Regions from separate parts of the Homo sapiens genome. Here all the other regions are linked to region 3. The links are contacts of gene promoters, found by promoter capture Hi-C in blood cells and fetal thymus (Javierre and others, 2016). All regions are on one chromosome and are shown on one strand. Each heading gives the region's core, a stretch centred on a gene start or on the middle of the fragment in contact. The rest is flanking DNA. Distances are from core to core; before and after follow the strand shown.

The links. Contacts are between HindIII fragments. The CHiCAGO score rates a contact against its expected background, and 5 or more counts as called.
Region 1: a contact is called between a fragment that was not itself captured here and the fragment with the promoter of HOXB5 in region 3, in 2 of 17 cell types (total B cells and naive B cells). The highest score is 8.9, in total B cells.
Region 2: a fragment that was not itself captured here is called in contact with the fragment with the promoter of HOXB5 in region 3 in 15 of 17 cell types (activated CD4 T cells, total CD8 T cells, megakaryocytes and 12 more); the score reaches 24.7 in activated CD4 T cells.
Region 4: a contact is called between the fragment with the promoter of HOXB13 here and the fragment with the promoter of HOXB5 in region 3, in 2 of 17 cell types (naive B cells and total B cells). The highest score is 18.1, in naive B cells.
Region 5: a contact is called between a fragment that was not itself captured here and the fragment with the promoter of HOXB5 in region 3, in 2 of 17 cell types (activated CD4 T cells and naive CD4 T cells). The highest score is 7.1, in activated CD4 T cells.
Region 6: a contact is called between the fragment with the promoter of SKAP1 here and the fragment with the promoter of HOXB5 in region 3, in 7 of 17 cell types (erythroblasts, megakaryocytes, activated CD4 T cells and 4 more). The highest score is 10.1, in erythroblasts.

Annotation. Positions count from the first base shown.
Region 1 is chr17:48,752,094-48,756,629 of GRCh38, reverse strand. LOC105371812 (a long non-coding RNA gene) reads right to left here and starts at 4,202. Exons shown (of 2, transcript XR_007065830.1): 1 at 4,007-4,202; 2 at 1,916-3,515. RefSeq lists enhancers at 2,054-3,043, 3,096-4,013. The HindIII fragment of the contact is 1,105 bases long and covers 826-1,930 here.
Region 2 is chr17:48,344,663-48,348,780 of GRCh38, reverse strand. SKAP1 (src kinase associated phosphoprotein 1) reads left to right here. Exons shown (of 13, transcript NM_003726.4): 4 at 2,775-2,876. Among named protein-coding and RNA genes, the nearest start is that of SKAP1-AS2, 52 kb to the right of the region's middle. The HindIII fragment of the contact is 3,432 bases long and covers 1-3,243 here.
Region 3 is chr17:48,592,529-48,596,966 of GRCh38, reverse strand. It overlaps HOXB5 (homeobox B5), which reads left to right and starts at 3,188. Exons shown (of 2, transcript NM_002147.4): 1 at 3,188-3,846. The coding sequence starts at 3,285. The region is part of intron 1 of HOXB-AS3 (HOXB cluster antisense RNA 3); the gene reads right to left. It overlaps HOXB6 (homeobox B6), which reads left to right. Exons shown (of 4, transcript NM_018952.5): 4 at 295-1,216. The coding sequence ends at 554. RefSeq lists enhancers at 304-473, 531-1,202, 2,245-2,750, 2,980-3,049, 2,751-3,258 and a silencer at 3,515-3,564. The HindIII fragment of the contact is 5,828 bases long and covers 1-3,832 here.
Region 4 is chr17:48,726,848-48,730,747 of GRCh38, reverse strand. HOXB13 (homeobox B13) reads left to right here and starts at 1,998. Exons shown (of 2, transcript NM_006361.6): 1 at 1,998-2,755; 2 at 3,705-3,900. The coding sequence starts at 2,155. The HindIII fragment of the contact is 3,706 bases long and covers 663-3,900 here.
Region 5 is chr17:48,456,592-48,461,129 of GRCh38, reverse strand. All of the region lies in intron 5 of LOC101927166 (a long non-coding RNA gene), which reads right to left. Among named protein-coding and RNA genes, the nearest start is that of SKAP1, 29 kb to the right of the region's middle. The HindIII fragment of the contact is 1,169 bases long and covers 802-1,970 here.
Region 6 is chr17:48,428,406-48,432,525 of GRCh38, reverse strand. SKAP1 (src kinase associated phosphoprotein 1) reads left to right here and starts at 2,312. Exons shown (of 13, transcript NM_003726.4): 1 at 2,312-2,451. The coding sequence starts at 2,406. RefSeq lists a silencer at 2,139-2,398. The HindIII fragment of the contact is 9,425 bases long and covers 1-3,910 here.

The DNA.
Region 1 (4,536 bases), core at 129-2,628, 160 kb before region 3:
ACTACAGGCATGCACCACCATGTCTGGCTAATTTTATTTTATTTTATTTTATTTTATTTTATTTTATTTTATTTTATTTTTAAGATATAGAGTCTCACTATGTTGCTGAGGCTGGTCTCAAACTCCTGGTCTCAAGGGATCTTCCTGCCTCAGCCTCCTAAAGCGCTAGTATTACAGGCATGATCCAAGCCACCTTGCCTGGCCCCACAGTCTCCTTTCAATTTGGTCCAGGCCAAGGAAAGGCTGATAATGAAAAACCATCGTCACATATATTATGTGGTTGATTCTTCACAGCAGTTCTGTGAGATCAATATTATCCTCATCTTATAGATGTGAACACTGAGGCTTGGGGATATCAAGGACACAGAGCCAGGCCTTAGTCTCAGGCCTCTGACTCAGTGTCTGCTGCCGATCTCATTTCCTCCACCCTTCCACCTCTCCACCCCAAACTCTCCATGTCAATTCCCACAGTCCCTTCATGGGCTGAGCTCCCACAGTCTAAATGGGACTTGAGTTCTTTTTTTTCCATTTCGTAGTTGAGAAGCAAAGACTCCAGAGTGGGGGTGGGGCTGGGGGTATTTTTTGTTTCTAAACCAGAAAACAGCTAGTTGACGTACTTGATTCTGTCTACCACACCCACCAACATGACTGGAGGTCCAGTGAGAAGTATATGTTTACAAATATTTTCAATCACTTTTCTATATCAGCAGCATCCCCCTCTGTTATTAAAACGTGAAAGATCTGAATCAAGACCTCTTGTTTTTAATGCCATAATTTGGTTGTGCTTGGACATAGCCTGAATAGACCCCCTTATGACCTGAAGCTTCTTGGTGTCTCTAGGGCCCAATGTACCATGGAAATTCATATCCCTCACCACCTAGTTTGGAAATTTATATTTATTAATGGAGAAATGCACAGTAGCTATATTCATATCTAAATGAAAGACTGGGCTTCTATTGAGAGAAGAAAAAGCGCTGTTGGATAGGACATTCCCTTCTGGTTCTCCATTTCCCAGCCGATTTGCTGATTATTGAAATGATTTCTCAATCGCTCTGTTGGAAGGGAAAGGACCGGAGAAGGAAAGAGGAACCGTTTATTGGGCTCAGAGCCAATTCACCGGTTCTTTCTTTTTTTTTTTTTTTTCCCCCTGGCCTTTTCATTTGCTCTGCTTCTAGGGACCCTAAAGGAAAATACCATTCAACAGAAGGGGCCGTGGAAACTGTAGGTAGATGGCGTGATTGGAATATCTCCTCCATTCCCCCATATCTGAAGTGGGTAGTTATAGGGCAGGTGGGGATTCTGCAGGAGAGAGCCAGGCCTGCGTGCGTGAGGCTGGCTTGGAGGTCCTGTTGGAGAAGGCGCGCTCGGGAAGGTTCTTCCTAGCGAATTTGCCTGAAATTGGAGATTAGGACGCCCAGAGAGGAAAACCATGCCCCGCCCACAGCCCAGTCCCGAGTTCTTGAGCCCCGAGCTCCTTGGCGGAAAAAGACCCCGGGTCGACGAGAAAAGTGCTTCCCCGACGCTGAGCCTTGCAGGCGGGGCTCACGCCCAGGCGCCGCCTACGCGCACCCTCCGCCGGAGGGCATCCCGGCTCCAGCGCAGAGCCCGAACCCGCACCGTGCCGCATGCAACGCAGGGCCAAAGGGCTTCGCTCCAGAGGGGTCGGAGAGAAATCCAGCAGAGGCTGGAAGAAGCAGGACCGGGGGTCTCAGTAGAAATGCTCAGGGCAGGGCTAGACCAGCCCGTTCCCTCTCGCTGTTCTGCTGGTTTTGCCCAAGCGGCTCCGGCTCTGAAGCCCCAAAGCCTCAGAGGTGAATTCGGTTCCAGAAGGAGCGTGGAATGGGGTTCCTCCGGTTCGGGCGTGTACGCGACATTGTTAACGTAGCGCGTATTATGTGCCAAGCACTGGGGCAAAGCGCTTTTACAAGCTTTATTATCCCCCAAACCACTTTATGAGGGGGATACGAGCCCCATTTACAGATGAGGAAACTGAACCCGAGAGAGTGTAAACCAGTATGTGTCCCAAGCAAGACTGGACGGGGCCGGTGACTCCACGGCCAAGCGAGATCTCTGTAGCCCTTCCCCGACCACAGTAGTTTGAACTTGAACTGCAGACACGGAATTCTAGTGTGGAGATCAGTGTGAAGCCACGGAGGGGAACAGCGCTTCGGGTTCCAGCGTGGTCACTTTCATTCCGTCACTGTTCCCATTAGGACTCCAGAGAAAGACTGGGAGGGAATGGTGGTTACGCCAATTTTACAGTGTAGGAAACAGGTTTATGTGCAGGTCATAGCTACTGCAGAGACAAGAGCCCATCCCGGGAAGGTCTTCTGATGTCCCAAACCCAGGAAGAGCTTTCAGCCAGGGCGTTCATCCTGAATTTTTCATGTGCCACGTAAATGGGGTGCTGAAACAGGCCCTGAGGAGTGTTGCTGCCACGGCACCTGGCCCTCCACAGAGCCCTTAGGTTTCCTGGTGTGGAGGACCACTGTGTGAACGACGAAAGGGAACTGAACTCTCCCTTCTTCCCTTCCTCCCTTCCTTCTTTGCTTCCTTCCTTCTGCTCACCGGCTGTGGAGAAGAGTGGGCTTGGGTGATTTTCCTGTGATTCACTTCCCAGTCATCCTAGTCACTCGGCTGAGACAGGGCAGAGGCCAAGTGTCCGAGGGTTTTTTTCTGGGACACGCGCAGTTTGGCCTTGGCAAAAATCCGAGAGGAAGATGAGGCAGGCGGGACATTATTTTGGTCACTAAGCACGGGGCTCTGCAGCGCTGGGCTCGCCACTGCATTGATTTAATTCCAGCATCAACTCTGCAGTTATTTTACCTATAAGGAGACTGTGTTCAGGGAGATGGAGACCGTTGCTTGGGCCTGAAGCTGCTGGGGAATGGGACTGGGGTCTAAGCCAGGTCTATGTAACCTCATAGCTTTGCCCTGCTCTGCCGGTGGCCCAAGAATGGAAATAAGAGTCAAAACAGCCTCCCTGCACACCAGCAACATTAAAAATGACAGCCACGAGATTCTTTCTTCTTTTTTTTATTTTCTTTTCGATGAGAGTCTCACTACATTGCCTAGGCTAGAACTCCTGGCCTCAATCGATGCTCCCACTTCCATCTACCAAAACGTCAGGATTACAGGCATAAGTAACCAAGCTCAGTCCAGTAACCATTTTCTTAAGGTTCAGTGACAAAGTCCCTCCCCAAGGAGTATGGATTTCCACTCTTGTGCTAGGGAAAGTTGAAGTATGTGCCTCTAACCCTTCACAGATGCCCACTTTCCCTTCAGAGAAACGTCCTTCAGGTGATTCTTAACAAACTGGAATCTGGAAGCTGTGCCCTCCAGCTTCCCCCGCCACCCAGCCCTTCCAGCTTCCCCGTCGTTTCCACAGTCGCATTCCCGAGGTCCGCGTGAGCCGTTCTTTAGCCAGACAGAAACTACGCCCCATGTGATTGATGCTTCTGCCTTGGCCTCAAGTAGGCAACGTGGCTGCCCGCTTGGAAGACCGCCCTGGTTTCCTGGCAGGAGAGAGGATTTCAGAGGTCTCCTCCACTCAGAATCCCTCCTTCCCCCTTCCCTCTCCCTGCCGCCCGCTCCTTTCTAGTCCCAACAGTTTCCAAAGCGCAGAGGATGTTTACCTGGACGGCCTGAGGTCACAAGCCTGATTCACCGCAGGCAGGCCCCCGAGCCTGCCCCCACCCGGCACCCCGGCTCTGCCAGGGCGAGGAGATCACGCTTGGAAACCCCACCCTGCCGGGCCAAGAAACACCCCCGCCACTCCCTAGACTCCCAGGCATCCCTACCGCGCCTAGGCCCTTCCTCCCAAAGGCGCTGGCCAGGCCCAGATGCGGGAAACCGTGGGAGAACCCGGAGGGGGCCCTGGGCGCTCTTCCCACCCGCCCCCCGTCCCATAACTGCCCCTCGCTGCCAAAGATTGAGGGTCGGGCTGAAGAGAGGGTAATGAGCTCCATTTCACCTCCGATTCATTTTAAAACTCGCGTGAACCAACCTGGGGCATTCCCTGACGAATGAACGGTTTTGGGTTTACTCCCAAACCGGGCTGAGAGACTCTCCTTCAGGCTTGGTGATGGAGGCCATAAGGCAGAGACAACTTGCTCCGTTTCATCAGCCAGGAGTTGGAAGTTCAGGGGATTTCCAAGTGAATCTCAGGATGAAGGGACGTTTGTCTTCTCCCTGTGTCCTCTAAGGATGTTCCCCTTCCCTTCAGAACCCTGAGGGGGTTAATGTTTCACCAGTCACTCCCTTCCTCCCTCTCCTGTCACCTGGGGGCTCCAAGACACACCCCAGCCCCTAACCCAGCCACTACCTTGTCCCAGGTTGGGTCAGTGAGGCGGGCTGTCCCCCAGGCAGCCCCTCCTCACCTGCACCGTCCCAGCCCCGGCTGGCGTCTGCCTGAGCTTGTTGCCTCGGCCCCCACCTGACCCCAACACACTGATAAGACCTCAGACTGCCAAACATCGTTAACTTCTTTGCCTTTCTAGACTTCTCAGCCTGTCCTTTTCCCGACCCCAGTCTGCA
Region 2 (4,118 bases), core at 278-2,777, 250 kb after region 3:
GACTTTTCCATCTGAAGTTAGGAAAGCAAGTGCCAAATCCAGGCAGGTGTTTTGGGTAAGACTTTAAAAACTGAGACTGTGAAGGCAATGTGATACCCTGGATTGGATCCCAAAACAGAAAAAGTACATTAATGGAAAACTTGTGAAATCCAAATAGAGTCTGTAGTTTAGTTAATAGCAATATACCAATGTTAATTTATTGGTTTTGGCAGATAGACCTCAATTATGTAAGAAGTTGACATTGGGGGAAACTGGGTGAAGGGTATGTAGGAACTCTGTACTATCTTTGCAACACTTACATAAATCTAAAATTATTCCAAAATAAAAAGTTCACTAAAAAAAAAAGCCCTTCCTGATCTGCATGTTTTTTAAAACACTTAGAATGTGAGCATGTACTTTTTTTCTTTCTTCTTTTCTTTCTTTTCTTTTTTTTTTTTTTTGAGGCAGGGCTCACTCTGTTGTCTAGGTTGGAGTGCAGTGGCACAGTCATGGCTCACTGCAGCTTTTACCTCCTTGGCTCAAACGATCCCCCCATGTCTCAGCCTCTCAAGTAGCTAGGACCACAGGCACAAGCCACCATGCCTGGCTAATTTTTCTACTTTTTGTAGAGATGGGGTATTGTCATGTTGCCCAGGCTGGTCTTGAACTCCTAGGCTCAAGCCATCCACCTGCCTTGGCCTCCCAAAGTGCTGGGATTATAGGTGTGAGCCACTGTGCCTGGCTAGGTTCTTTTTCTTTAATGGTGGATTTGCCACATTTTTGAAGCAAGCAGAGAACTTTAAGTCCAGAATAATAGTTTATACATAATGTTCAGTATATCCTACAAAAGTTAAATTTTGCTTGGCAATTCCAGTACTTTTTTTATTTTTAAGGATTTTTATTTGGCTTAAAATAAAAATTCCATTTAACCTTGCAGCTCACTTTCAGGTTACTAGCCAGGCAGTCCATTTAGATTGTGTTGATAATATAATTTTAGTGGACTTCCAGTGATGTAAAATTTGAGCATTTTAATCCTCAGTCCAGTATTTGAGAATTTTTCTGGTTACTATGGAAATTACACAGTGATGCTTTAAGCATAGCTATAAACTTTGTATACTGATAAGTAAACTAATAAAAGAGAGTATTTCTTCTGGCTTTGGCCAATGACTATTGTGTGAGTTTTCTACAATTTTTATTTCTCTTTTTCATAATAAACTTTATAGTTTATTTCTAAAGTCCTATATTTGTAGGTGTTCAACTCAGTTATGGACATCTACCTACCATACAGCATTTGAAGAAGAGTCTAGATATGATCATCTAATTTATGGAAAGAGAAAGCTACAGCCATTCTCTTTTTATCATTTTATAACCTCCCTGGCTTTCTAGTTTAATTGTAGGAAATAAACCTTTAAAGTGAGGCAATACAGATTCTATGTAGGTTGTTTGGTTTCACAGCTCCCTAGTTGAAATCCAAGGCCAAAACTCTACAGTATTTACTGAGATTAGCATTGGTGATTTCCTTTGGAAATTAGTATTTGAGATAATATTAAATTCAGTTGAAAATCCTATTTTCATGTTTGTGAAATGAAATAAGCAGCTGTCAGTGTCCTTTTATTAGCAGACTGTACCTCTATTTGGGGGATTTTAAGGAAAGCCATTTGCAATACAGAGCCTTTTCTTCCGGTTTCTGAATGAGCTAACATCTTCTGTCTGAACCTTTTAAAGTATCATAATAACATCAGTCACTTCTACAGAATACAATCCAATGTATATTGAAAACACACAAAAGAGATTAGCATTAATTGCATAATTCAGTATTGTATATACATTACCTTTTATCAAAGCCATTTTACAGGACAAATATTATCTTCTTAGGGCTTTTAGAATTCCTAAGAGGTCGGTTGCCTAGGCTGTAAACTAGAATTACAAAGAAAGAACTTTGTTAACGTTGCAGAACAAATAGGAATACAGTCCAGCAAAGTCTAGGTTTTCTCTATTTTTATAATACTTCTCTTACTTTTCAGAGAAAGACTATTGACCTTGCTATATTATATTATGTATAGAAGGTTAAACCTTTGGGTCAGTCCTATTTCATTTGAAATAGAGGCATGCAGGGTAAAGGTTGTAATTATTGGAGACATAGTATATATGAATATAAATTTAATTCTTTTTTTTTTTAGATGGAGTCTCGCTGTTGTCACCCAGGCCGGAGTGCAATGGTGCAATCTTGGCTCACTGCAACCTCTACCCCCCGGGTTCAAGCGATTCTCCTGCCCTAGCCTCCCAAGTAGCTGGGATTACAGGCGCCCACCACCACACCCTGCTAATTTTTGTATTTTTAGTGGAGAGAGGGTTTCACCATATTGGCCAGGCTGATCTTGAACTCCTGCCCTCAGGTGATCCGCCTGCCTGGGCCTCCCAAAGTGCTAGGATTACAGGCGTGACCCACCATGCCTGGCTGAATATAAATTTATATAGCTATGTTTTTATTTTAAGTATGATAGAGAAATTTCTTTCTGGTGGCAAGAGGTATTCCCACTATAAGCTAACAGTTCCTAAGTTTTAGTGAGAGAGTTACTTGAGTGGAAAATTTTTCATCCAGGTAAGTCAGTTCTTGAACCTATTTAACTGTTTCCTATATGTTAATGGATAGTGGCCATGTTCATCATCCAGTAAAAGATACACTTTTTTTTCGAATACTGGAAGAGATCATACATAGATCCTTTTATAAGGATGTATCCTTTTATAAGGATGCCCAAAGATTAACCTTATTTTCTGTCTTTTTTGTCCCTCAGGGGGAGACATTGGACAGGACAGCTCTGATGATAATCACAGCGGGACTCTTGGCCTGTCCCTCACATCCGATGCACCCTTTTTGTCAGATTATCAGGATGAGGGTGAGTGTTATCCTTCTGGATTTTGGGTGACTACCATACTTCATTATCTTCTGGCCTGACATCTTTGCCTTTTGTCATTTTTGTATCTAGCAGCCTTTGGTGGGTTTTCTGTACTGGTAATCACTAGTTTGCAAAGAACAACTATTTGTTTCATTGTGGTGCTGATCCTCCTTGGTAATTCAATACTTCTGAAGTTAATGTACTTAGGGAGACACTAATTCCATATTGGAACAGGAAGACATCATTATTGATCTTTTTATAAAAACCGTAGCTCAATAGCTAAGAGGGCATTTTAAGATTTCAGGGCCTAGTTTATACCATTCTTTTGGATTTTTTAGCTTCACTGATTTACATGAGAATTGAAGCTTTTATTTAATGATTGTTGGATTATTAATTTTCTGTGGATCATTTGAGACCCTTGAGCTCATCATAGTATATAATAAGATACCATTTCACCTGTACTTCTCACATACCCCTGACCATATTGGTATTGCTCAAGGGGAAGGGAAAGCCACAAGAACCACAGTGTGAATCTTCCTAGAGCATCAATTTTACTTGAATATTTGGGAATGAGAGGAGTTAAATAATTCAATTGTTAGAAACATTATTTTTATATTCAAAATTCCACAGTATATAACATAATGAAATGCAAAATATACATGAATTTTTAAGATAAGACATAAAATATAAATATTTTGGCCTGATGGCTGCCAGTTTCTGGCTCAGGCCTAGATTTCCCAAGTGTGGGGATCCGCTGTGCCTCTTCTGTCATGTGGCCACCTGAGCAGAAGGTTTCATCATCATGGATGCGCATGGTTTTCTTATCAGAGTCTCTCTCATGCCTTCCCAGTAGGGTTAAAAAGGTAGAGGTGCTACTAAATTGAACATCAAATTGGAAACACATTATTCGCTTAGGGATTGGGAATAAAGTTGGTAAATTATTCCTTACTTTTCTTTGTTAGTCTGCAATCTTTCCATTTCTTTTTATTTAGATTTCAAGAGCTTATAATTTCTGTTTTACTCTCTCTTTTTACTTTATCCATTGATTGTTATTTCATTTAGCCCTTTTGACAATTCATGTTTTTTTTCCCTTTCACTGACTTGATAACCTCCACATAAGAACTGGGGGTTGAATCACACAGAAACATTTTATTTTGTATAATAGCACAATTAGTAATACCCAAGTTTTAAAATGGGGTTTGTAATATAGGATCTGTGTATTGATTCAGGTATTACACTAAA
Region 3 (4,438 bases), core at 1,939-4,438:
AAAGACAAGATGCAACTAGGAAGAGACACACCTGACCAGCCCCTCCCCCCAGGCTCAGGTGGGAGTTCAAACTGCTCCTCCCCTCCCCCATCTAGAGTCTAGACAGACGGCACAGGCCTAGGAGACTAGGAGGGAATCTGGAGGGGGCGCTGGAGGAGTGCGAAACGGGGGAAGGGAGCCGGCAGAATAGAGGGCATCCCGGTACTGGCTGGAGTCTGTGTTCGAGGGTCGACTAGGGGAGGGGGTCCTGGGCCCGGTGACCGCAGGCCTCAGCATCTCCACTCTGCGTAACAGGTTCCTCCTTTGGGCCCAGCGGCCGGCGAGGCCGCCAGACATACACACGTTACCAGACGCTGGAGCTGGAGAAGGAGTTTCACTACAATCGCTACCTGACGCGGCGGCGGCGCATCGAGATCGCGCACGCCCTGTGCCTGACGGAGAGGCAGATCAAGATATGGTTCCAGAACCGACGCATGAAGTGGAAAAAGGAGAGCAAACTGCTCAGCGCGTCTCAGCTCAGTGCCGAGGAGGAGGAAGAAAAACAGGCCGAGTGAAGGTGCTGGAAAGGGAGGGAGGACGCGAGGGGAAAGGCCTGTGGGGAGCCGAGGGCGTCAGAGAGACCCGGGAAGGAAGGCTCTCGGGTGGGGGAGCCAGGAGACCTGCTCTCCGGCGCAGACAGGCGGGGCCCAGCGCTCTCCTGGACGCCCCCGCCCGCACAGCTCCCGGCGGGTGCTCTGAGGCCTCACTACTCGAGCCCACCCAGCATCCCGCGCGCCCTTCCTTCCCGAGGAACTCGCCTCAGCCTGATCAGGCTTCCTGGTGAGAACTGAGGAGCGGACTCACTTGATGTTTCCTGGAAGCAGAGCAAAATGCTCTTGTCCCTGTCGCGTCTCATTTTGTCCATGTCCCCCGTGCACGGTTCAATGGTAGATTCGCTGTCCCCTCAGCGGGGGCCTTGAAGACTCCCTGATCCCAGACCTGTCGTCTCTCCCACCCCCTCCCCAAAGCCACTGGAAGGAGCACATACTACCTAGAAGTAAGAAGAGGAGCCTCAGAAGAAAACAAAGTTCTATTTTATTAATTTTCTATGTGTTGTGTTTGTAGTCTTGTCTTAGCTCTGGACGTGAAATACTTCGATGATGATGATGATGATGATGATGATAATAATAATAATAATAACAACAACAACAACAATAATAAAGATGTGAAAACTCGACGCTCGGTCACCTCCAATCCTCCCCTGCCATTTTTTCCTCTCTCCTCAACCCCCAGCCTCTCCATCTTTCCTGAGCCAGAATTCTTCAGCAAAGGCGAGAGCCCTGGCCCGCCGAAGCGAGCCCTGTTCGACTGGGAAGTTACAGCTGAGATAAAGGCTGGAGCGATCAGTCCTGCCCAGGCCCCAGCGCTGCGTTTCCCTGGTGCTGAGGCTCACAGCCGCTTCTCCCCGTGCAGACTTGGGGGATGGAGAGGTGCTGTGTCCCTCTCATTCTCTAGCCTTTCCTCGTGTATACACAGCACTAAGGGAGCCACTGAGGCCCCTAAAGCTCTCTGGCGGAGACGGAGCCATAGTCTGGGGGCCTCTGCAGCGCTTTTCTGTCCTCACCTTCGCAGCGACCCCTGGTCTTTGGCCCGTCCACATGGCCAGGTTTTTTCGCCAGCCTTGGCCCTCCGCTCCTGGCCTGTGGCTCTGGAGACTGAAAAATGGGGCCACTGGGTATCTCTCACCCTGCAGCTGAAGGCTCCAGGTGCCCCTTCCCACCTCAAGTAGCAGATCAGCCTCAAGTAGGAGATCAGCCTCAAGTAGGGGAATGTAAAGCCACCAGCCAGGCACAGGCCGAAGGCCACAACTTTCCCTTGCTCCTTGGAGACCCCAGGGCAGGAGGCCAGGTGATGGGGCTTTTAGTGTCATCCTCTCAACCCAGAATGGCTCATTCTCTCTCTGCTTGCACCGGCACCCAGAAGGCAAGCTGCGGTCACTGTTTTCCTTTATTCCTCCGCCCTCTCGCTTCCTTTCTTATTTTTAAAGAAAATAGTCCCCTCCTAATAGGAGACCAGCTGCGGCGGTCTCTGGCCGCCCAGCGTGCTCAGCAAAGCATGCGGGTCCTTGGAACCCCTTTTCCGGGAAGGCGGCTGCCACCAGGCAAATTCTCAAACTGCCTAGCTGCGAGTGAGGGACCTGTAGTGGGGCCTCCGAATGCAATAGCCGAGGAGGAGGGGAAGGGATCCCGCTTTACAAACTCTCAGACACATGTTACTACTCAAACTAAGCAGCAGACGCGGTGGCCGCTGCAGTCTTTTCGGCAACTAGGCCGCTTAGCCCCAGCTGTGCTCGGTTTCTGGGGTCCCTGTCCTGCTCTGTCACTCCCCACGCCTGGGCTAAGGACCACCAAGGAGGTCCGGAAGGGGATTTCGAACTTCCAAGTGGCCCAGGAGAAGTGAACGCTTCTCCTTCTTTTTCAAGCCTCCCGCCCAGCCCTGCCGGCTCGGCCTGGGCGCTGTGGACCGGTAACAGCAGTTCCACCAGGATGCAGGCCGGACTAAGCTCCTGGGGAAAACCCGTTGCAATAATTGTTTTTCACACACAACTTCCAACCCTTCCCCCATTTCCGCCTCCAATTCGGAGACTTGCAAAGCCCAAGAAAGGGAAAAGCAACTCTATCTTTGATCTTCTCATCCAAAGTTAAAATAATAACGACAATGATGATGTAGGGAGAAAGAACCAAATAGAGAGGCTAACCCCACCCACAAGAAAGTGGGTAAAAAGCCCAACCCCTGCTCTAAAAGGCTCAACCCTGTGGCTGAGCCTTGGCCGGGTTTCTTTCTCTCCCGGCGACTGCAGGGAGCCTGCAGGGAGCCAGCAGGGAGGCAGCCGCCCGCCGCCATGGCGGTCTCACGCCCGCGCTCCCGTCGGTCGCCGGGAGGTGGCGCGCTCTGCTCAGAGGCCAAAGCCAACCTTCTCTCTGTTTCTCCCCCTTCTCCTTTTTTCCCCCTCTCTCGGAGGCTCGCATTGAATCGGCCCTAACGATTCTCGGATCGTCATTATTTGTAACCATAGAGCATGAATTACCTCTTGAGGTCATCAGCGAGAATTTACGACTGGTCAACAAAAGCACGTGATTCCCTAACGCCCCCCACCCCCCTTCCAACCCCCCCCCCATATTTGGCCGCATACATAGCAAAACGAAGTACAGTGCATCGCTATAATTCATTAATACATCATAAATCGTGAAGCACAGGGTTATAACGACCACGATCCACAAATCAAGCCCTCCAAAATCACCCAAATGAGCTCGTACTTTGTAAACTCCTTCTCGGGGCGTTATCCAAATGGCCCGGACTATCAGTTGCTAAATTATGGCAGTGGCAGCTCTCTGAGCGGCTCTTACAGGGATCCCGCTGCCATGCACACCGGCTCTTACGGCTACAATTACAATGGGATGGACCTCAGCGTCAACCGCTCCTCGGCCTCCTCCAGCCACTTTGGGGCGGTGGGCGAGAGCTCGCGCGCCTTCCCCGCGCCCGCCCAGGAGCCCCGCTTCAGGCAAGCGGCTTCGAGCTGCTCCCTGTCCTCGCCCGAGTCCCTGCCCTGCACCAACGGCGACAGCCACGGCGCCAAGCCCTCTGCTTCGTCCCCCTCCGACCAGGCGACCTCAGCCAGCTCCAGCGCCAATTTCACCGAAATAGACGAGGCCAGCGCGTCCTCGGAGCCTGAGGAAGCGGCAAGCCAGCTAAGCAGCCCCAGCCTAGCTCGGGCGCAGCCAGAGCCCATGGCCACCTCCACAGCCGCGCCCGAGGGGCAGACTCCGCAAATATTCCCCTGGATGAGGAAGCTTCACATCAGCCATGGTAATTCTCTCTCTCTTTTTTGTCTTCTCGGCTTTCCTTCTCTGCGTTTTGGGGTGGGATCGGGGGGACAAGGAGAGCTTGGCTTTACCCTAAATATAGATTCATTTTTCTAAGGGGGAGAAGTATCTAAGAGGGGCCTCATAGCTTCGTAGACAGAGCCAAAAAGGGTCTCTCTGTTAAGAGGGGGGTATTTTTAATAATTTGTTTCCAGCTTCGGCTTAGGTTTTTATTAGCGCAGCTGAACCAGCTTTAGGATAAAGGATGGGGTTCATATAATGTGGGGAAGGGTCCTGCTTACCCCTGAAATTTTGAGACTGTCGCTAGCAAAGAAGGGGTGAACAGTAAAAGGAGCTTTCCGGGGCAAAAGTGCAACCGCTCTCCTCCCTCCCGGGGCGAGCGGCCGCCTGAGCCCAGCCAAGGGTGAGGCACTAGGAGCGAGCAAGAGACAAAGCCGGGCGCACTGGCTGCCTGCAGAAGTGGGGGATGCAGTAGAAAGGGGTGCAGAAATCGAGCTTGAATGTGGGCATCTGGAGTAGAGAGGATTGGAGCTGTGGTGAGCTGGGTGCCGGGACGCCTGGGTCCTGCTCCCCCG
Region 4 (3,900 bases), core at 749-3,248, 130 kb before region 3:
AATAAATGTGCATGTGTGGGTGTTTGCCTAGTGGAAACTAAAACTGTGGACATGCCCTACATATCTATCATCTACCAAGTAAAAATTGGTGAAAAATTCTTAGTCTTTAGGTAAAAGTCTGGATATTTCTGCAGTTCATAATTAGACAAGCAAGAAACTCTGGTGAGAAACTGGAAAGCACTGAAGAGACATCTCCTCCCTTTTCTTCCATATTGTTTTCAAATGCGATCTAGTGAAGATTTCGTGCTTGGTGTCTTCAATTATAGCAATGCTCATTAGGAGTGATGTACACTACTGCCTGTGGGCCCTTTCCCACAAAGTGGCTCAAGTTCAAGGTCAGGTTGGTGAGAGGCTATGATTGAGTCTGCCCAGAGTTTAGGGTAAGCCATTCCATATAATTGTCAAGACCCTCGTGTAGAATGGAAACATTCCTGTCTTCTCCAGAAAAACTGGGAGTTCTAGAAAAAGCAGACAGAAGGATTTGATTTGGGAGGGGTAGTAAAGGAAGCGGAAAACCTCTAAAGACAGATTTGTGAAACAAACCGTTTGATTCTTCTGAATTGCACTGCACATTAGGCCCCAACAGAGGGGCCTCAAGCAATTCTGCCAGTGGCTGGGGTTTCCCCTTCCATTCCCTTTTCCTTGTAAGGAAGTTTAAAGCTTGCAGGAGGCAGATAGGGGTCTTGGGCTTTCTGGGTACTCAGCTTGTGTGGGAGTATGCCAGTATCAGGGACAGTTTCCTGGGCCCCTTGCAGACCATAGGGAGAGGACTGCAGGGCAGGGAGACTGGCATCTCCACACAGGCGTCTGTATTCTTGGGGTCCAGAACTCCCGCAGCTGGTTTCTGGCAGTCAGCCAGGCTTGGCTTCCTCAGACTTCTTTAGATCCCAAAAAAGGGGGAAAGTGCCTCTCTTCTTTCTCTTTTCTGACTGACACTTCAGGATTTTACAAGATTTTGTCCCATCCGCTCTGTCAGCTTCTCTCTTTCCCTCTTTGTGTTGCTGTCCCTGAGTCTCATCTCTCCCTCTCCCCGTCCCTCCCTCAAGTCCTGTGGGTCTCCGTCCCTCCGTATGTCTTTACTTAAAGGGAAATCCAGACCCTTCCACAGGCCACTCTAGAGGCTCCATTTCCCCTTCAGGTCCGGAAGTGGAGTGTCCTGGGTTCCATCCAGATCGCATGTCTTCTACGTCTACGTTCGTGTCTCCCGCCTCTTCCCTCAGCCTCACCCGAATCAGGGCCTCCAGAGCATTCTGGGCAGTAGCGAGTCCCTGGGTAAGGGGCGTCCAGGGCACCTCCCTGGGGCCCGGAGCAGCTCATTCCAGGACATCTGGGACAGGAAGGGTACCGGGAATGAACTGGGGTGCTAGTACCCAGGACCCAAAGCCAGGGGCTGCCAGAAATACCTATTAACCCCCATTTCCCAGCCTCCTCTTACACAGGCGCATTCCCGGGTTCTCCTCTGAGGCCGGGAGCGGCCTCCCAGCCCCACCCCCGACTCCCCTTCCCCCCCAGGAGATGGACACTTTATAGAGAGAGCTTTTTATTCTCTCGTTAAACCTGTCAAAGCGCAGGAGACAGAAAGCTAGGGAGGGAGAGGAGGAGAAGGAGGTGGGGCCCGGCTCCTCGTCCCCTCTTCCTCCGCCCACCACGCCTCCCCTCCCCCCGGACGTGTAAATGAGACTCTGCAAACTGGAAAGCAGCGAAAGGACACCTCCTTCCTTTTCTCTCTTGTTGTTTTTAAGTGGAATGAGAGAGAGAGGAGTGGAGAGGGAAAAGAAGAGAGAGAGGGAGAAGAGAGAGAGGAGAGAAAGAGCGAGAGAGCGAGAGAGAGAGACAGAGACAGAGAGAGAGAGAGAGAGAGAGAGAGAGAGAAAGAGAGAGAGAGAGAGAGAGAATAAGCTGGGGTAAAGTATTTTCGCAGTTTCTGCCTTTAGGATTTTATTAGCTTCTCTCCCCCAGGCCGCAGCCAATCAGCGCGCGTGCCCGGGCCCCTGCGTCTCTTGCGTCAAGACGGCCGTGCTGAGCGAATGCAGGCGACTTGCGAGCTGGGAGCGATTTAAAACGCTTTGGATTCCCCCGGCCTGGGTGGGGAGAGCGAGCTGGGTGCCCCCTAGATTCCCCGCCCCCGCACCTCATGAGCCGACCCTCGGCTCCATGGAGCCCGGCAATTATGCCACCTTGGATGGAGCCAAGGATATCGAAGGCTTGCTGGGAGCGGGAGGGGGGCGGAATCTGGTCGCCCACTCCCCTCTGACCAGCCACCCAGCGGCGCCTACGCTGATGCCTGCTGTCAACTATGCCCCCTTGGATCTGCCAGGCTCGGCGGAGCCGCCAAAGCAATGCCACCCATGCCCTGGGGTGCCCCAGGGGACGTCCCCAGCTCCCGTGCCTTATGGTTACTTTGGAGGCGGGTACTACTCCTGCCGAGTGTCCCGGAGCTCGCTGAAACCCTGTGCCCAGGCAGCCACCCTGGCCGCGTACCCCGCGGAGACTCCCACGGCCGGGGAAGAGTACCCCAGCCGCCCCACTGAGTTTGCCTTCTATCCGGGATATCCGGGAACCTACCAGCCTATGGCCAGTTACCTGGACGTGTCTGTGGTGCAGACTCTGGGTGCTCCTGGAGAACCGCGACATGACTCCCTGTTGCCTGTGGACAGTTACCAGTCTTGGGCTCTCGCTGGTGGCTGGAACAGCCAGATGTGTTGCCAGGGAGAACAGAACCCACCAGGTCCCTTTTGGAAGGCAGCATTTGCAGGTACCTCTATTACCCTGGGTCCCCTTGTCTCTGAGCCTGGGGTTGTGGGTCCCAATGGCATTTCCCTGGGAGGAGGAGGAGGGAGACTTGGAGCTGGTGAGGATGAGCTTGGTGCTCCTCCCTTGGTTATTAGGACTCTGAAGGAGGTCTGAGTAGCTGGAGGGCCTGGATGGAGGTCAGTGTGAGGGGCCTGAGCTGGGTGCTATCTGAAGCCTGAAGGCCACCTCACTTCTCCAGGAGGCCCTGGGACCAGCCTTTCAACATGTCTGAGAGGTTTAGATCTCTTTGCTGTTGAGTGGGGATCAGGGTGTCCCTACCCAGCACAATTCCAAACTAATTCTACACAAAAGCTAAATAACTCTCAATTCGGTGCGTGGGGAGTGGGTGTGGGAGATGGGTAAAAAGGTATTGGATGTACTGTAGAGAATACAACCTCTCACTTTCTATTAGATGAGTTTTCCAATTTCCAAAGAAAAATTTAGGTTTCCTGCAGCCGTGACATATGTGTGTGCACTGGGATGGGTTAATGTGTGTGTGTGTGTGTGTATGCGCATGTATTGGGAGTGGGGGCAGAAACGTGTTTCCAGAATTTGCCTGTAGAATCTAAAAGAGTGGCCAAGAGTCTGGAAATGCATGAAGACTGGACGTATGTGATGGTGGGCAAAGGCCTGACTGTGTGTGGTGTGTGGGTATGTTTGCAGATTCGCGGGTGTGAGAGCAGTGATGGGTGAGGGTGGCCTTCAGGAGCCAAGGCTGAGCGGTGGTGAGAGAACAAGCCGGAAGCCAGGGTGCTGTCCTGGTATGCTTTGGAGGAACAGGATTGCACGTGCGCCTGTAGGGTGACCTGTGTGCACCTGTGAGATGACTTAGCTTGGGGCTTGCAAGGCCTGGGTCTGCATGGGTGGGTATCTGACCATGCCTTTTCCTCCCTCCCTTTCACGCCGCGCAGACTCCAGCGGGCAGCACCCTCCTGACGCCTGCGCCTTTCGTCGCGGCCGCAAGAAACGCATTCCGTACAGCAAGGGGCAGTTGCGGGAGCTGGAGCGGGAGTATGCGGCTAACAAGTTCATCACCAAGGACAAGAGGCGCAAGATCTCGGCAGCCACCAGCCTCTCGGAGCGCCAGATTACCATCTGGTTTCAGAA
Region 5 (4,538 bases), core at 137-2,636, 130 kb after region 3:
CTCCTGGGCTCAAGAGATTCTCCTGCCTCAGTCTCCCAAGTAGCTGGGATTACAGGTGTGCACCACCACACCTGGCTAATTTTTTGTAGTTTTAGTAGAGACAGGGTTTCACTATGTTGGCCAGGCTGGTCTCAAACTCCTGACCTCATGATCTGCCTGCCTCGGCCTCCCAAAGTGCTGGGATTACAGGTGTGAGCCACCACACCTGGCTCAGTTCTATAATATTTTAATTAGGCTTCCAAACTCTCATCTCTCCCATTGCTACTTTTCTGGTTCCTGAAGACGATCACTTCTTAAGGACCCACCTTCTAATAGCTCCAATAAGGAAAACCATAGATGATACTTTGTAAATGCAAATAATTCCCTGAATGCACCTCTATTTTATTCATCTAAATATATAGTAAACAATTCAAGCTAGATTTGGACATTTAGAATCAAAGATGTAATCTAGTGATCCCTCATTTGGACCACAAATGAGATAGATCTTTACATTAATGTATGACGGATTTAGGTTAGACACAATGAAGAACTTTGCAGCAAAAGTTCAGTGGAACAGGTACCTGAGGGAGTGTATCAGTCAACTTTACTAAAATAATGCTGCATAACAACTAATCTAAAATCTCAGAAATTTATAACATTTATTTTTTGCTCACAGGTTTGTGGATTGGCTGCAGTGATTCTGTTCAGGTTGTGAATCTTGTTCAGGTCTGCTCCATGTAACTTCTCATTCTGGGACTCAGGCCGAAGTGACAAGGGCATGCTCTTCTCGTGGCAAAGGGTAGAGGTGCAAGAGACCAAGCTTAACCAAGCAAGTAGAGTTAAAGCCTCTGTTTACATTCCATTGGCTAAAACAAGTCACATGGCTAGACCCATCATCAATGGAGTGGGGAAGTTTGCTCCCCCAACGGAGGGAAATAGAGAAGAATGAATGTTTGCTGAGCAATAATACACTCCACCACAGGGAGGTTATGGAGTTTCCTTCACAAGTGGTCTTTACAAATAGAAGAGGTTGTTATCTCTCTGGGTTCCTCTGGGTACCATATTACCTGAAGTATAGCAAAGGAAGACCAGAAGACATGATTTCTTAAAGATGCCTGTTTTGGTACAAGGGCAATGTAATTTGTGTTTGATATCTGGTTGCCACTGAATCCCCTTTTCCTTTTCCACCAGAGCTGTGCCATGGGGGTGATTTCCAGGCCAAGTCTTAATATCAGAGTCTCTGCATGATTGTATACAAGTGACAGTCACACAGCAAACATAAATACAGATGGCTCTGATACCATCGGGGAACAGTATTCCTGCCATCGGGCCAGTTTTGTCTGCTGCTACAGTGCAGTTAACTCTGGAATGAAATTGGAAAACTAACTGATGGTCAGAGAGGACTGGAAAGATTTTCATTTGTAACTGAGACAGGCAGGGCTCAGCAAAAGGTGATGCAAGAGCAGATTTTACCATAGGCTCAGTAAATCCAGCTAACAAACATGCATGCATTGTATTGAATCACTTAAGGATCTAAATATTTGAATGTATTCAAATGGAAAGACGTGATTGTGCACTCACACCCTCAGCAGTTTTTGACTCCAAGGCTTCATATTCTGTACCCTTTGCACCCTTGGTGATAACCTTTCCTTCTTCTACCTCAGTGTGCTCATTCTCCCTCTTCTCCCTCCCCAATATCTGTTATCAGGAACTCCTTAGGTCCTACTGAAAGTATAGTCCCCAGACCAGCAGTAGCTGGTCTCAGGTGCATCACCTGAGAGCCTGTTAGAAATGCAAATTTTGGGGTGCATTCCCCAGACTTGCTGAATCAGAATCTCTGGGTTTGAGGTGGGGAACAGTTGTCTCAGGAAATTGTGTTTTCATAAGCTCTTCAGATGAGAAGTTAAGCACATACACAGAAGTTTGAGAACTAGGGCAATTCTGACTCAGTAGGTCTGGGTGAAAGCCATGACCTGCGTTTCTAACAAGCTTGCAGATGATACTGATGCTGCTGTCTGTGGACCACACTTTGAGTAGCGCTGCTTTAGAACTCAATTACATACACATGAAATGATGGCCAACAGTTAAAAGCCTTACTGGTCCTAAGTGGATAGGATCAAAGTCTTAGTGAATAAAATGAGCCACTAATGGTGGAATTTTACGCAACAGCCACCAGGTTTTTTTTAAAGTATGTTTTGAGCCGGGCATGGTGGTTCACACCTGTAATCCCAGAACTTTGGGAGGTCGAGGCAGGCGGATCACTAAAGGCCAGGAGTTTGAGACCAGCCTGGCCAACATGGCGAAACCCCATCTCTACTAAAAATACAAAAATTAACTGGGTGTGGTAGAGTGTGCCTGTAATCCCTGCTACTCAGGAGGCTGAGGCAGAAGAATTGCTTGAAGCCAGAGGTGGAGGTTGCAGTGAGCCGAGATTGCGTCACTGTACTCCAGCCTGGGCAACAGAGCAAAACCCTGTCTCAAAAAAAAAAAAAAAAAAAAAGGAAATGTATATTTTGGTCAGAGGGTGGGCCTGGAGCCTCTGAAGCCACACTGTGTGTGATTACCTTCCATCCCACATACAGAATCCATCCTGTCAATGGATGATTAAAGAATGAATGTAGCACGGGGGGAAAGCACTGGGCTGGGAGTGAGGAAATCTGGGTTCCAGTTCTTGCGCTGTCACTGAGATTGTGCACGTGGTTGGGTCCCTTACCTCTCTCATACTCATCTATATAACTGAAAAAATGAACTGATGAGAGATACACAATCTCCAGCATCCCTGCCCCACTGTGCCCACTTTTTCGCCTTGGTTTTTCAAAAATGTTTGTGGGTAAATAGTAGGTGTATACACTTATGAGGCACATGAGATATTTTGGTACAGGCATGCAATGTGTAAGAATTATATCATGGAAAATGGGTATCCATCCCCTCAAGCATTTATCCTTTGTGTTACAAACAATACAATTATACTCTTAGTTGTTTCAAAATGTACAATTAAAGTATTATTGACCATAGTCCCCCTGTTGTACTATCAAATATTAGGTCCTATTCGTTTTTTCTATTTTTTTTTTTTTTGTGCCCATTAACCACCCTACCTCCCCCTCAGGCCCCCCACTACCCAGCCTCTGGTAACCATCCTTCCACTATCTCCAGGAGTTCAATTGTTTTCTTAGATCCCACAAATAAGTGAGAATATGCGATGTTTGTCATTTTCCATCTCTTTAAAAATTATACAAGGTTATGATTACCTTAGCAAAGATTTCCTTTCCAGACGAGTAAGCGAGTCTCAAAAAATGGTAAACCAAAGCTGCAGAATTGAGGGCCCATAGAGTTGAATGCTGTGAACCATGAGTAGAGTTGCGCCCGACTCTAACCATCCCACCACACCCGCCTTAGTGCCTACTCAGGGTCGGGGTCTCCACTTCCCACTTCCTAACTGGGTGACTTGGGGCAAATTACTCTCTCTCCTGGAACTGTGGTTTTCTATTCCATAAAATGAAGATGAAAATAACACCTACCTAATAGGGTTGTTGTGAGGTTTAAAATCATTAATACATGTCAAGTGCTCAGGACAGTGTCTGGCACGAGAAGAGCATTCGATAAATGTCAGGGACTATTATTACTCCAGGAGGAGGAGGGGCCGCCCTCATCAGCCCCCGCCACAGACTGTTGAAATCTCAAGCCCAAGCTGCAGGTCTTCCTCTGTCCTGTAGGTGGCGCCTCCCCGCGTTGAGCGTGCCACCTGCGTCCTGGAGCGCTTCGAGAAAGCGGAAAGAAGTAAGTTTTCACATCTCTGCTCAGTTCAGGATTGCTAGAGAGGAATCTTCTGCAGTCACCTGAAGCCTGTGCCCAGGACAACCAGGTTTTGGGATCCGATTTCCTTCCTGGAGTGGCTTTAAATCCATTTCTCGCTGCACCCCACCCCCATCACCTGGGCGCCTCCCCTGCACCTGCAACCCAGAAAGACTCCTCCGAGGATTGCACTCCCAGCACCTGAGGTAGGCAGTTGAGTGGGAGTTTCTTTGCTGCTCGGTTAAAATGACAAGTTGGTACACGAGTGCTTAATGAAAGATGCTGGAAACCTCCTTGGAGATCAGAAAAATCGCCTCTCCGAGCTGACAGCCAGGCCATCTGCATTCCCGCATTCCTATTAATTCCTTAACAATAAACGACAGGAGCGCCTAGAGGGTTAACAGCTTAATTTAATCTCTGAGATTCCTTCCTGGAGCATTGAGAATTAGAAAGGCATTTACACAACGTAATCTGCACACCTGATTTTTCCTCACTTGATGTGTCTGGGACTAGTCACACCCATTTCTGACACATCTCCAGACAGAGGCTCTGCCTCTCTGGCTGATGACTGCATAGTCGCCACAGGTTGCTGTGGACTCTGAACCACGTGACTGGACTCTTAGTGTCACAAGATCTGGCTTCTTAGCAGCTGCCCCCATAGTTGCTTTACATTATGTTCCCAGGGCCTTTCAGGGACAGGAAGGTCCCCAAATAGAGATAGAAAGGTGGTGCCCAGTTGGGAGTGAATTTCCTTCCCTTGTGGGAAG
Region 6 (4,120 bases), core at 1,063-3,562, 160 kb after region 3:
TAAAAATGCCATGGGGGTACCTGGTACTTGATCCCAAGCCTGAAAGGGGTAGTCTGCCCATTGCTATACTTTCTTTCTTTCTTTCTTTCTTTTTTTTGAGATGGAGTCTTGCCCTGTCACCCAGGCTAGAGTGCAATGGCCTGATCTCGGCTCACTGCAACCTCCGCCCCCCGGGTTCATGTGATTCTCCTGCCTCAGCCACCCGAGTAGCTGGGATTACAGGCGTGCACCACCATGCCCAGCTAATTTTTGTATTATTAGTAGAGACGGGGTTTCACTATATTGGTCAGGCTGACCTCAAACTCCTGACCTCGTGATCCGCCTGCCTTGGCCTCCCAAAGTGCTGGGATTATAGGCGTGAGCCACTGTGCCCAGCCACCCATTACTATACTTTCTCAGGGCAGGAAGGAGGATGAGCAGGAGCCAGATACCCCAGAGAGGCTCATGCCAGCCTCTGTCCCCTCACCCCAATTTACTGCAGCTTGTAGGTGGGTCATGTGACACTGAAACCAATGCACCACTGCTTTTCAGATGGCAGGATGCACTGTACTCCTTAAAGGATCACACCCTCATCTTTGAGGCTGTATCTCTGGATGGGAAACAGTACAAGGAGGCAGGCACTTTTATCACACTCATCCTTCTCGATGGTTTCTTCTTACTGCTCTTGCCCCGTCTGCTAGATTGAGTCCATCATTATTCCCCTTATGGCTGTTGTAAAAACCATTTTACCCACTTCCCCCTGTGTCTTTTCCCACCACTCCTAATCTTTTCTACATATTCTGTAGGTTGAGTCTGAGAATAGAAATGCCATTTTTTACAAAGAAGGAAAAAGGCAGAGGTGGAGATGTGTGAGGCCACATACCACCCCGGAGCTCTGGTTAGGTCATTCCCAATCTCAAAAATTGTCAATGGCTCCCCAGTGCCCTCTCAATTAAGTTCAACATTCCTATTCTGACTTTCAAGTCCCTTCACAGTAGAGCTGCAGTTTATCTTGACAACCATAGTCTTTCTACAACATCCAGTAAAAGAGGGCTACTAACTATTCCTCAAGCTGGTGAGGGCTCTTCCATCTTTCTTTACTCTGGTCCTTCCACCTGGAAAGTCCTCTGCCCCTTCAAAGTCTGGTGTGTTTTTCAGAGCCCATCTCAAACACCACATGCACCTTTAAACACTCACATGCACACTGGCACTTCTTTTTATTTTCTTTCTTTTTTAAGAGACAGGGTCTTGCTCTGTTGCCCAGGCTGGGGTACACTGGGGTGATCATAGTTGGCTGTAACCTCAGATTCCTGGGCTCAAGTGATCCTCCTGCTTCAGCCTCCCAAAGTGCTGTGATTACAGGTGTGAGCCACAATGCCTGGCCTCTTCCCTCCTTTTCTGGTATTCAGCTCCCTTCTTTTATCAACCATAGCACTTTATACTTTTTTCATGGCAGTTGACCTATTGTACTTAAAAAACCTCTTTATTTTGAGAATTATAGATTCACAGAGAGTTTCAGAAATAATAGAGGAACTCTGTCTACCTTTACCCAGTTTCCCCCAAGGGTAACATCTGGCACTATTACAGTACCATGTCACAACCAGGACACTGACACCAACTGTCCCTTGAATGAGACCGTGTGATTTTGTCCTTCACTTTCCTCCCTTCCGCAGCTCCTGGAGGGAAAGGGCTCTGTTCTCCTCTCCCTCAGCTTTCTCCCTGTGTTACCCCTTCCTTTCCTCAGGGCCTTTCCATCCTGAGGGAGAACAGCACAGTTTGGTTTCCTGTGTCCCTTGCTGCCACGCTGCCGCGATTCTCCCAAATGTTGGTGTCCTTATATTGCTTATTGGGAATTAATCATTTCCTTTCAACATTGTGGCTTCCCAAAGAGCGAAGTTTTGCCCTCTTTTCTGGGGATGGAGATGTGAACTGGACCGGCAATTGAGGGGTGCTATGCTTGACGGGGATCTCTTCCTTGGATTCTGCCTCCCTGCACCCTACTTCAGGCACCCCGTGGTCTTTCAAATCTGCCACCGTGAGGTCAACTGTTCGGTGCTTAGGATGGAGTGTCCAAAGCCGTGGGTCCTTTGAGCCTTGTGAAGTCTTTTGTTTTGGTGGGTGCTGGAGGGGCGCACCTTTGGCCTCGCACGGTGCGGTGCTTCCGGCACCCCCAATCCTTCTACCGTGGGGCTCCGGCGTGAGCGCCACGTGCACCCACGCCCCGCGCCCCGTTCCGGTCCCCGCCTGCCGCCCGCGCCACTTCCTGACGCGCCCGGGGACCCACGGCCCCGCCCCGCGGCCGGGCTGGGCGGGCGGCGACCGCGGCTGAGGTACAGGTGCCTCGCGGTGCAGCCGGGTCGCCTTCCAGCCCGTCCGCCTCCCGACCAGGGCCCGCGCCCCGTCCCGCCTCTCTCCCGCCCAGCCAAATGCAGGCCGCCGCCCTCCCTGAGGAGATCCGTTGGCTCCTGGAAGGTAACGCCCTGGCGCAGGCCCCCTCCAGTGCTGAGCCGAAGGCCGAAAGGGGACACCAGGCCTCCCACGGCCAGGCTTTCTTTACGGCTTCGTCACTCACCTCCTTCTAGAACCTTAAGGCTTCTAGAGCCCTCAACTCCCTAGAGCCAGCTTTCCATCCTCTCACCTCAGGGCCCCTTTCACTCCCTGGAGTCCCACATCTTCTTTTGCCTTGAGGCACCTCCACGCCTCCACTTCACCTCCCCGGCTTCTAAAGTCCTCAGGCCAGGTTCTTGGTCCCCCATGCCACCTTGCCTGGTCTCCGACCTGTCCCTTTCTCCAAAGGACTGCCCTACATCTGTAGGGTTTCCCGTCCCCCTCCTTCCCCAGCCACGACTTCCTCACCTCTCACAGAAGACCCCAAACCTTCCTGCTTAGAGGTCCCCGAGGCTCTCCAGGGGGCTGCGAGGGGCTCATGGGATCCCCATGGGCCAAGGCCAGGTGGTTGACGTGAGTTTTTGTCAGTGCGAAAACCCCAGCCCTCCCTTTATCACCCTGCAGACGTCTAGGGGTCTCACCCACCCCAAGGCAGGCTCATTCTCAGTATGGGATTTCCTCCTTTTCTAGAAGTGCCCCCATTGTGGTGTGTTCACCTTCCAACTCCCATTGTGGTGTGTTCACCTTCCAACTACAGTGTCTAAGCGGTGGTTTAAAGAGTTCCGGCCATCCCCGTCAACACTCAACACACACTGCCAACACTCCAAAGAGATGTCACAAAGAGACGTTGCTAACGGGCAGTTTCATCTGCTGGGTTTCGTGGTGGAAGTCACTTTTACTTGCTTTCCTGTAACTAACCTTCCAGGGAGGACAGAGGCCTGGAATCTGCAGTCGCATAAGGCTCCCAGGAGGAAACTATTCAGAATTAAGCCTTTTGGCATCTAAGTTGACATAGTTGACACATATTTAACAGACGGCCTGCTTTGGGCAGGTCATATTTTTGGCAAGCAGTATTTTTTTTCAGTTTCTCTCAATTTAATTGGTTTTATATCTCCATTACCTTGTTATCTCGGTATAAATGCCTCCTAATCAAATATTTGGCAAGTCCTTTTGGTCTCTGTCTGTAGCACTATTTCCATTCTGGATTGCTTCTATGTAAAAGCTGTCAGCTAGATATTTCTTTTGAGGTGAGGTTTCCAAAATCCGTTTTACTTACGATCAGAATAAATCTAAATTTTGGGGGTAGAAAACTATTTGCAGGGTAAAAGAGAATTATCTGGGTGTCTAAGAAGAAACAATCCAGCCTTTCCCTCTGTTGTTGGTTTAATATTAGGCTTGTGAAGGAAGGCTGTAATTGTCTTTGGTTTCTAGGAAAGAAGGGACTGTGGCAAAAAGTTTAACTCTGCCCTTGCATTGAAATATATAAACTGATTCTTTTTATTGGTATCTGTCATTTGATGAGAGGAAACCTATTTTATAAGCTTATTAAACTATACTTCAGTTTTGTGTCTAGGCTTGGTAGAAAATTCCTTTTTATTTTCAGAGGCTTGCAATGAAATCCATTCCTTCAGCATTTTTGATGTGCAGTTCTTCATTGTTCAAAACTGACACTTTGGTAAACAACTCATTTCTGCACCTGCCACCTTCCTTTAGCTTAGATTATTTTCTTGTTAGCTGACTGTTTTTAATTGAA